Linked DNA regions of Homo sapiens: region 2 is linked to region 1. The links are contacts of gene promoters, found by promoter capture Hi-C in blood cells and fetal thymus (Javierre and others, 2016). All regions are on one chromosome and are shown on one strand. Each heading gives the region's core, a stretch centred on a gene start or on the middle of the fragment in contact. The rest is flanking DNA. Distances are from core to core; before and after follow the strand shown.

Region 1 (5,904 bases), core at 2,899-5,398:
TCTTCCCTTCTCTGCCAGCCACATGTACAGTAATGAACAGACAAGATGGCACCAATCAACTAAAAAGTCCATTTGCATAATAAGATTAGAGTAGGACAACCAGCCTTCCGCTTGCACTATATAAACATTATACCTGATAGAACCAATCTGTGTGCCCTATGTAAATCAGACACCGCCTTCTCAAACCTGACTATAAAATCTGGTGCATTGACCACCAGCTGGTCCTTTTTGCTTGGAGACCCCCCTCTCTCTACAGAGAAAGCTGTTTCTCTTTCCCTTCTCTTCTGCCTACTAAACCTCTGCTCCTGACTCCTCCTGTGTGTCCATCTCCTAAATTTTCATGGCGTGTAATGACAAACCCCAGGGTCTATACCCCAGACAACATAGATGCTTCATAAGTACAATATGTATGTACAGTTTAAGAGGAATGACAAAATGAAAACTCACAAGCCAAGTTAGGAAATAAAACCTTATCAGGAACTTAAAAGGGCCCTGTGTTCCCTTTACTCATCCCATGCTTCTTTAGTTCCCCCAAGGAGTGATCAAAATCTGAATTTTGTGATAATCATTCCTTTACTTTTCATTAGATTACTACATATGTGTGTGCCTCTTACAACATATTGTCTAGTTTAAAACTTCTAACAAATGTAACACTAAATTATTCTGTAACTTTCCTATTTTTATTCAACATTATGCTTTTAGGATTTACCCATGTTGATGCATGTGACTACTGTCTATTTATTTTTACTGCTGTAGAGTATTATACGTCATGAATAGTATATAACACAATTTACTCATCCATTCTACTATTGATGGACACTTGGTTTGCTTCCCATTATTTTGCAGTTGCTACAATGCAACCATTGATGTTCTTATGCATGTCTCCTGGATGGAGTCACAGGCAGCATACACTGTCCTTCTATTCTTGGATCCCATAGAGATCCCTATTTGTGTCTGATGTTCACATTAATAGTATCCAAGATAGCTGAAAGGAGGTTATTCTAATAATTCATGCACATTATTTGAATTAGAACTTCATCATTATTTTGAAATATTTGATATGAAAAGATTGGGTTAGATTCAGTATCTATTAGCAGCATAAAAGATTTTCAATGTAACATTTGTCAAGGAAGAAAAGAAAGAGCTGTTAGATTCTGTAAATATAATGTCAACTGCTAATTTATGAATGGTTTTGAAAGGCTTTAACTTTCATATTACTTGCTTGTGGGAACAAATTTCTCATCACGAGCGACTATCCAGAATTTAAAGAGATCATGACCAAAAGTCTCAAACAGGAATTGTGCATAGTCATTTAAAACAAAAAATATGATTACTACAAATATTACGCTCATGGGACTGAGTTCAAGTTTCCAATTTAAAAAATGGAAATTATTTTAGCTGAACATCTTATGCAAATTCATTCTTTCCCTTACTTTTTGTGGTAGCCTGCCTCCAAGATGGTACCCAGTGATTCTTGTCTCCTGGTATTCACATCCTCATGTAATTCCCTCTCATATTGAATAGGGAAGACTTCTGTAACTAATAAGATAATTGCAGAAATGACAGTGTGTGATTTCCAAGGCTAGTCATAAGAGACACTGTAGGCTTCTGCCTTGCTCTCTCTTAGATCACTTCTTCCGGGGGAAGACAGTCACAGCATTACAAAGACACTCAGATACCCAATGGGGGCTCCACATGCTAAGAAGTTGAAGTCTACTGCCAAGAGCCAGCACTAACCAACTAGCCATGTGAGTAAGCCATCTTGGAAGTGTCTCCTCCAGCCCCAGTCAAGCCTTCAGATGATGTAGCCCCTGATGACATCTTGCCTGCAACATCATGAGAAACCTTGTGCAATAACTACGAGCTAAGCAGCTCCTAAATTCCTGACCCCCCCATAAACTGTGTGAGATAAATGTCTATTGCTATTTTAAGCTGATAAGTTTGGGGGTAATTTGTTATACAGTGATAGATAACTAATATATTTTGGGGATATTTTTGTCATAATTATACAATATTTTAAAATGTCAGTTGTTTTCAATAATCCCATATCAATGCCTCCCACCAATCACCTTCTAAAATGCAGATAAGGTATCTTTTTGGAGAGAAAATTAAAAACTGGGATTGCTAATATTCAGGAGCCTTCACCTTACACAGAAATCTTTAAGTCATATTCACAGACTCCTTTGTTCCTATTTTTATGTATGTTGGGGCAAGGGGACATAGGAGATTAACGGCATAATAGAGCCACAGTGCGGTGGCAGAAATTTTATTTCAAGGGTTTACTGAAAGTTAATGGTCCTGAAGTCACTCTGTATACGAAACATGAGCATAGTTGACACATTTGAAGTCCCTAAGCACTAAAACAATAACGATGCCTTCCTATGTGCAAAGATAAACAAAAAACGATATGTGTAAGAAGCCCCTGACATTACTATTTTTCCCTGATGCTTCTTCTTGAAATGTCAGTTACCAAATTCATCCTAAAGATTGTTTTAGTTTCCCACTTTTTCCCTTTCCTCATAGTTGGTTGATTATTGTTTAATCCAGCAATGATGAAACACCCTTTACAAACATAAAGATTCATTTCTAACATGAACATTTTTTATTACAGCAACTCCTTTGCTCCAGTTATTATGAAATCAATCATTTTACTTCCCAACCACTGGTGTTTTCCCGAGGGGCTCTTGTTAGCCAAGCTACCATTGATAAGTGCTTATTCTGTTAATATTCCTTTGAAACCCATTATAAACATTCCTTTTACCCAGAAACTCAGCAGTCCCTGGGAGGTGACTAAAGGGAGGATGGCAGGGCAGAGGGGAGCTCATTCAGTCCTGCAGACCTCATGCTGCCCAAGTTGTTTGTCCATTTTTTCAGCACCCATGCACTGTCACCTTACATGCATGCAAAGGGCCAAGCTGTTTATCCTGACCATGGAGAAGGACTAAGCAGGTAACAAATGCTAATTTCTGAGGTCAGGCAAGGCACTTTATATTATCCCTTTTTGAAGCCAATATCCAGGTATAGGGCAGGATGGGAAGGTTCTGAGCATCCTGCATATTTACAAGTACTTTGCTACATTTAGTAAGAACTGATTAGTGGTCATACCCATGGAAGTCAAAAACTCTAGCATGGTGGCTCATCCTTATAATCCCAGCACTTTGGGAGGCTGAGGCAGAAGGATCAGTTGAGTCCAGGACTTCAAGACCAGTTTGGACAACACAGCGAGACCTCATCTCTACAAAAAATTTTTAAAATTAGCTGGATGTGGTGGCGCCTGTATTCCCAGCTCCTAGGGAATCTGAGACCAGAGGATCAGTTGAGCCCAGGGATTTGAGGCTGCGGTGAACTATGATCCGGCCACTGCACTCCAGTCTGGGCAACAGAGTAAGACTCTGTCTCAAAAACAAGCCTCTTACAGTTTGGTTACATTTTTAGAAGATTAAGCACATGCCTTAAAAAACATGGGCAAAGAAAGGCACGGAAGAAAACTTAAAAAAACTTGATATTAAAATTTTGAAGCTGAGCTGTTCGATATAACTACAGTCACATGTGACTATTTAATTTTAAGTGAAAATTAAGTAAAATTAAAAATTTCCTCAGTGGGACGAGCATATTTCACCTCCTTTATAGGCCATGCGTGGCTAGAACAGATGGAAAACATTTCCATCATCGCAGAAAGTTCTACTGGACAGCACTGTTCTGAAGTGTTTAATTTGCCATCATGGAAAAGAAATAAAATTCACTGAATGTCCTTAAATCTGTTTTATGATTTGGCATTGTGTTTAAGTCTGGATTGCACATTTAGGATAGAGGTAAGAGGACCACACTATTTTCAGTGTCTGGAGACCTCTAAAGACTCTAATTCGACCTTGGCCAAAACGATCCTTAACAGCATTTATATGCTTGATCTCCTCTCCACGCAGCCCATCAATAAGCCATTGCGCTCCACGGTCACACTTCAGCACTCCCAATACACCAGGCAGACACTGAGTACGAGTCTCGGCTGGTGTCCTAGCAACAGCGACGCGACCCCGCCCCTTCCCGCGTACACCTCCTACCTTATTAGCCTGGAAGGGGCGGGACCAGGGGTCCGTGCCCAATAGGAAGGGAGCAGAGGAGTGAGTCCTGGCCGCGTCCCCGTCGCTAGGGAAACCGATGCAGCTGGAGGCCGCGCGCGATGCGGCTCGCGGAGGAGCGGGCCGCGCTCGCGGCGGAGAACGCGGATGGGGAACCCGGCGCCGACCGACGACTGCGACTCCTGGGGACCTACGTGGCCATGAGCCTGCGGCCGGCTGCGGGCGCCTGGGAGCGTTGCGCGGGGAGTGCTGAGGCGGAGCAGCTGCTCCAGGCCTTCCTGGGCCGCGATGCTGCCGAGGGGCCGCGGCCGCTGCTGGTGGTGCGGCCCGGGCCCAGGGGCCTGGCAATACGCCCCGGGCTGGAGGTGGGACCTGAGTCGGGCCTGGCTGGCGCTAAGGCGCTTTTTTTCCTTCGCACCGGGCCCGAGCCTCCAGGGCCCGACAGCTTCCGCGGCGCAGTGGTCTGCGGGGACCTGCCCGCGGCACCTCTGGAGCACCTAGCCGCGCTGTTCTCGGAGGTGAGGGTGGGTTAGTGTCCCCGCGCGGCTAAAGCTGGGTGGGGGAGGGGAGGAGGAGCCTTAAGGGACGGAGGCGGGGCCAGAGGGGGCGGGGCGAAGCTGCAGGGGAGGTCCAAGAGGCGGAGTGATAGGCAGAGGGGCGAGGCTGTGGAGGGAGCACAACCAGGAGGGAAGTTCCTGAAGTCAGGAAGAAAATGGGATGGGGTTAGGGGCGGAGTCGGGTGGGTCCGGAGGGAGGGATCTGGGTGGAGGCCAGGCCAGAATGAGAATGGGAAGGAGCTGAGGCTTGGGTCAGTCCGGGTCTGGGTTCCAGCCAAAGTCAGGGGAAGACCATAATCTGAAGAGTGCCTAGGTTCTGACTACTTTCAAAATCAGCCTCTCGTAATCCCTCCTGTAAATTGGAAAGATCTGAAGAAGATGGGAAGTGGACAAGACGGCATTTCTGATGGATCAGTGGGGTGGAAGGAGGTGGATGGCTATAAACAGTGCCTACTTCTGGAGAGCAGTTAAATGGGAGGGGGAGGTGGGTAGTGATTTGCTTTTGATTTTCATCTCATTCATTCATTACCAACCATTTAGCAAAGGTCAGCCCTGTGCCAGCATAAGAAGTTGGGCTCCCATTTGGAAATGCCCAGCAGGCCTTTGGAGGAGTCTGCCTGAAGCTCAGGGAGGAAGGTGGAGATGTGGGTCATGAGTGCTTTAGTGGCACCACAGCAGAAGCTTCGAGAATGCAGGAGATTTCAGGGAAGTGCTCCAGAGAGATTCCTGGGCCCCTTAGACCTTTCTGGAATGGGAGTAAACTGCCCTGCAAGTCAGGCTGTGTGCTTATGGAGGCTTGATGCCCTGGACCCTGCAGGTTGTGAAATAAGGATGGGCAGAATACTGGCTGTATGATGGTTCAGGTGATAGGTGCTATAGGGAATACCAAAGAACTATTCCCACCCATGAAATGCTTACTCCAAGGAGCTGAAACGTATGTAATAATTCATATATTCAAAATGTTTCAAACTTTTAAGACTGGGGTGAGGGTAAAGCTTACCTAAAAGTTGGCCCCACTGCTGGATGCAAGTCCTGGAGTCTCCCTGCTATGTCAAGTGTAAGCCCTTTAGATGGTGTATCAGGAGGCTGTGGGGAGGTGAAAATTCCAGGGAAAGGGTTGGATAGATAGAGGAGGACACAGAGGGCCCAGGAAGCTAGATCTCTTAGATATGGAGGTATTTCAATATTTTAACAAACAGAATGGTCTTGCAACTGTGCATTGTCTGAAAGCCATCCCGCTGAAGCCTGAACTTAGATCAGCTTCTCTAATG
Region 2 (5,350 bases), core at 2,137-4,636, 710 kb before region 1:
TACTCTGTAATTTTTTTTTTTTTATTTGAGAGGGAGTCTCACTCTGCTGCCTATCCTGAAGTGCAGTGGTGTGATCTTCACTCACTGCAACCTCCTCCACCCAAGTTCAAGCGATTTTCCCACCTCAGGCTCCTGAGTACCTGGGATTACAGGCACATGCCACCAAACCCGGCTAATTTTTGTGTTTCTAGTAGAAGCGGGATTTCACCATGTTGGCCAGGCTGGTCTCGAACTCCTGACCTCAGGTAACCCACCCACCTTAGCCTCCCAAAATGTTGGGATTTCAGGCATGAGCCACCATGCCTGGCCTATAATTATTCTTCACAACATATTTCAGCAATAGGATTAATTATATGTGTCATTAATTATTCAATGTTTGTCTGTCTTACTAAAGTGTGAGCTCCAAAAGGACAGGAGCTTACCACAAATAGCTACAAATTACCTATACACATCCTAGGTACTGTTTTAAGCCCTTCAGATACAACCTGCTCACCCAGAACTCCCATTCTGGTTCCAGGATGGGGACAAAGGGAATTGCTACCTAACACAGTTGTCAGAAAAAGTCTCTCAAATCAGGTTGCATGAAAACGGAGACTGAAAGCAGTGAAGGACCATATCATGAAGCTCTCTGGGAGGAGGGGCATTTAAAGAAGAGAAAATGGAAAGTGCAAAGGTTTTGAGGGCTGGAACATGTTTGGTATATTCAAGGAACAGCAAGAAGACCAATGCAACTGTTGCAGAATAATCCCATGTGAGAGTGGTGGAAGATGAAATCAGAGAGGTAGCAGGTGGCCCTAGCTTTTACTCTGAGTGCGACGGGAAGCTGTTTTTGAGCAAGGGGAGAAAGACAGAGAGAGAGAGAGAGAGAGAGACAAAGAGAGAGAGAGAGAGAGAATTGGGAGGTATGTGACTGGGAGGTATGTGACTCAGGAGTTGGGTTTTGTTCGTTTAAAGTTTGAGATGTGTGTTAAGAATCCAGCTGAGATGTAAAGTTGGGTTGAGGCATGTGGAATTCAGGAGAGAGGTCTAGCAGGAGAGATAAACCTGGGAGCCATCAGTGTAAATTGCATTTAACACCATGAGCCTGAAAGAGGTCTTAGAGAGGTCTCTAGTGAGAAGGGTAGACCGGGAAAAGAAAGCCGAGGGCTGGGTCTGGGGCCATTGATGTTCAGACGTCTGAGATCTGAGCAGGGACCAGGAGAAACAACCAAGAAGGAGTGGCCAGTGATGTAGAAGGAGACTCTAGAGAAAAGAGCATCCTGGAGGCAAATCATAAAAGACTTTCAGGAAGAAGGTAGGGACAAAAATTGTCAAATGTTTCTGAGAGACTGAGTAAGATGAAGACCGAGAATTGATGATTGGGCTTTGTAACATGGAGGTATTGGAAACCTAGATAAGGGCTGTTTTGGTGAGGTGATGGGCAAAAAAGCCCAAAAGCATTGAGTTCAAGATGGAAAAAGAGGTCAGAAATTGGAGACCATTCTGCAAAGGAGAGCAGAGAAATGAGTGGGAACTAGAAGTAGGTAAAGGGTGAGCAAAGGGTTTGTGTTTTGCATTGGATGGAAAAGGTCAAGAAGAGAGAGAAAATTTGATGGTGCAGGAGACAGCGTGGCTGACCGATCAATGACCTTGTTATTGAAAAAGAGAATGAGGACCTAGGGTTCAAGCAGAAGGGCTGGCATTAGAGCTTTCAGTTCATCTGTGATGTTGAGTGGGAATGCAGAGCTTCTAGGACAAATGCCCTGAGGGTGGTAGATGTCTTGGTGGAAGCCTGCAACATTTTCTTCTGATTGCTTCTATTTTCTTAGTCCAGAGTGAGGAGGAGAAAGAAGTTACAAAATAATAGTTTAGTCTCTTAATTGGATTTTCTCCAATCACACTAGGCAGAAAAGCATATAAATGGATGACTTGCGAAATGGAGTAGGATTGGAAGGTAGCATTTGGGCCCCTTGAGGTAGGATCTCATGCATTTGAAATAGGCCAGTCAATATGCTTGCGTATTTTTCTCCCACTAAGTTCAGCTGCTTGGATAAAGGTTCAGAATAGTTAGAGAGTGAGATTTAATAAGGGTTGAGGGTTTTTTTTCCTAGGTGAGAATTAGGGAGTGAGGAAAAAAGGAGCTGGAGTATGTTCTGGGGAGTAATGGTAACAGCACCTACTTGAATGGAAGCTGGATAAGAAGAGTGAGGCAATGGAGGAGTTGAGGGACAGTACAACCATGTATTGATCATATATTTAGATATAATCATGTATTTAGTTTATAGAGGGGTCAATAATTTTTGGAATTGGCAAACTGAAAATGAGAAGTGGTGGTTGGAAAGTAGGATTCTTAGAATTGAGATAACAGAGTGCAGTTACTTGTGTAAAAAGGTCTAGGGCATGACTATAAGGGAGAGTGGATGAGTTAGGATGGAGGAAAACAATCCCCAGAAAAGAGGAGGTCATGGAATGGGCAGTCCAGGGCTTTGCAGGGATTTCTCTATGGAAAGCAAAATCACTGAGAATCACAGCTGAGGTAGTATGGGAGAGGGTGACCATGACCCAGGTGCCGGGATCTTGTAGAAATGAGGGGAATGACACAGGGCTCAATAGTTGACTATGACAAGGAGGGTAGTGGGTTGTTCGGTATGGCCGCATGACCCTTAAAACCGGGAGTGTTGGGGGCAGTGGTATGGAAGATCAGTAACGGGCAAAAAGGAGTAATGGGCAAAAAGGAGCCCTGCCTCACCTCCAGGCCCAGTGGAACAAGGGGTATGGGAATGAAAAAATCAGCTGCCTTTTCAGAGGACAGCAGGGGAAATGGTGTCTTTGCGGGGAGCTTTGAGATTTTCTTAGGGGCTAGTTCTGGAACCCAGTGGATGCGGAGCCCTCCTAATGCTTCCTCCCTGTTGTTGCCTCTGTTGCTGCTTCCTGGAGTTGTGTCTTTGACCACAGACCATTCTGTACTACTGTATATCACAGTGGTTACATACACAGGGTTTGGGCTCCAACTGTCTCGATTCAAGTCCTGTGTTTCTAATGCACTACTTCTCAATTCTGTGATCTTGGGTTAATTAATCGACCTCTTTGTGCTTCTGTTTCCTCATCAAAAGATAGAATGGTAATGGGCTTACGGAATTGTTGTGAAGTTCAGGCAATAGATATAGGAGCTGTGCTTGCACTAGACTTGGGACAGTGGTTGCACATATAAATGTTTGCTATTAATATAATTATTTTTCCATCACATTCTGCTCTTGATGGCCCCCTTATTCGGTGAGGGCAGAAAGGTAAGGGGAATGTTTACAGTTGCAATCGAAGATAAAGAGATTTTGCTGATAATAGATCATGCATTCCAGTGACCCAGTGGGTGGGTTTGGGAAGTTGGGGGTAGTCAGATTATGGGGTTCACAGAGGTTTAGGGGATGAAAGGCAGGGTACTGAGGGATGAGTTTAGGGAGTCCTGCTGTCAGAATGGCAGGGCTGGGTGAAGGGTGATCTTGCCTGGACAGTGCAGAACTCAGGGGCCTCCTCTTGACTTTGACTTCCACTGATGAACATGGTCAGTGTGGTTCACTGGCATATCCCTGGGGTCTAGCCAAGCTCTTGCTGCATCCTTGCCAAATAAACAAAAGATGCTTCTGAGGAGGCACATGCTGTTATGAGTTTTCCTATCGGCTCTGCTTCTTCTAACACCTCACACTACCCTTTTGGAAATCTGTCTAAGCTCTTGGTCAGATTCCCTCTGAATTTCACCGAGCATGTTGACACACCTCTGTACCTGTGATTGTCTTGCCTGTAAATAGTTGTACTTGCAGTTCACCTCACCCAGAGCTGAGATAAAAGGTGTCACATAATGTTCCCAGAGTCCTGTCTCATATTGCCCGAGCAGATGCTACTGTTGCAGTGATAACCAAAAATGTTAAAATTGAGACCACAAGGACTTGTTGAGCATTGTAGTTTTCTGACAGGACAGATAGTTCCTTTCTTCCTTGGCTCAATGCTTGAGACTTCATCAGACACAGAACTTTCCTGCCGCTGTGCCCCACAGCTGCCCATCCTCACCTGCTCAGGGCTGTCTGCTCTTAGATTATGGGCTGTGCTGTTCAGCTCTCTGGTGAGCTAATTCAAGACCTGGATCCTAGGGTCTGTTGCAGATGGTCATACAGGAGTCACAGACTGGATAGAAAATTACCCACAGGCATATGCTGTTTGGATCACATAGTGTTTTGCAAATCAGGAAATTTCATGCAAAATTACAGATTAATGACTTTTTTTTTTTTTTTTTTTTTTTTTTGTGGGCAGAGGAATATAAAAAGACCCAGGCACAGGAACTCTGACATTCTACATAGCAACCATTGGCTAGAGTTGAGTCATGGCGCCCCCTGCAGATGGAGTACATACTTTAAGTCATTACATATCCCTCCAAGTAAGCCTCTTGGGACTACCAATTTTTTTTTTTTTTTTTTTTTTTTTTTGAGACGGAATTTCACTCTTGTTGCCCAGGCCAGAGTGCAATGGTGTGATCTCGGCTCACTGCAACCTCTGCCTCCCAGGTTCAAGTGATTCTTCTGTCTCAGCCTCCTAAGTAGCTGGGATTACTGGCACCCACCACCACGCCCAGCTAATTTTTTGTATTTTTAGATAGGGTTTCACCATGTTGGCCACGCTGGTCTTGAACTCCTGACCTCAGGCGATCTGCCCGCCTCAGCCTCCCAAAGTGCTGGGATTACAGGCACTCAGCCCAATTTTTTTTTAGGTGCCAAAATAAATGCGAGATTCTATTTTCTGCTTAGGAACACCCGTAGGTGGTTATGTATTTCTTTTTCAACTTTTATTTTAGAATCAGGGGGTACATGTTCAGGTTTGTTACTTGGACATGTTGCATGATGTTAAGGTTTAGGTATGATTGATCCCATCATGCAGATAGTGAACATAGTAGCCAATAGGTAGTTTTTCAATCTTTGCCTCCCTCTCTTTCCCCTCTAGTGGTTCCCAGTGTTTATTGTTCCCTTCTTTATGTCCATGAATACCCATTGTTTAGTTCCCATGCAGTATTTGTTTTTCTGTTCCTTCATTAATTCGCTTAGGATAACAGCCTCCAGTTGCATCCATGTTGCTTCAAAGGACATGGTTTTGTTCTTTTTTATGGCTGCATAGCATTCCATGATGTATATGTATCACATTTTATTTATCCAAACTGTCACTGATGAGCACTGGTGTTGATTCCCTGTCTTTGCTATTGTGAATAGTGCTGTGATGAACATACACGTGCATGTGTCACCCATCCAAGTACTAACCAGGCCTGACCCTGCTTAGCTTCTGAGATCAGATGAGATCAGGCATGTTCAGGATGGTATGTCCTTGTGTCTTT

What was found. Contacts are between HindIII fragments. The CHiCAGO score rates a contact against its expected background, and 5 or more counts as called.
Region 2: a fragment that was not itself captured here is called in contact with the fragment with the promoter of DNAH9 in region 1 in 5 of 17 cell types (M2 macrophages, M0 macrophages, endothelial precursors and 2 more); the score reaches 10.1 in M2 macrophages.

Annotation. Positions count from the first base shown.
Region 1 is chr17:11,594,322-11,600,225 of GRCh38, forward strand. It overlaps DNAH9 (dynein axonemal heavy chain 9), which reads left to right and starts at 4,149. Exons shown (of 69, transcript NM_001372.4): 1 at 4,149-4,594. The coding sequence starts at 4,178. The HindIII fragment of the contact is 5,374 bases long and covers 1-5,312 here.
Region 2 is chr17:10,881,044-10,886,393 of GRCh38, forward strand. No RefSeq gene overlaps it. Among named protein-coding and RNA genes, the nearest start is that of PIRT, 46 kb to the left of the region's middle. The HindIII fragment of the contact is 8,278 bases long and covers 1-5,350 here.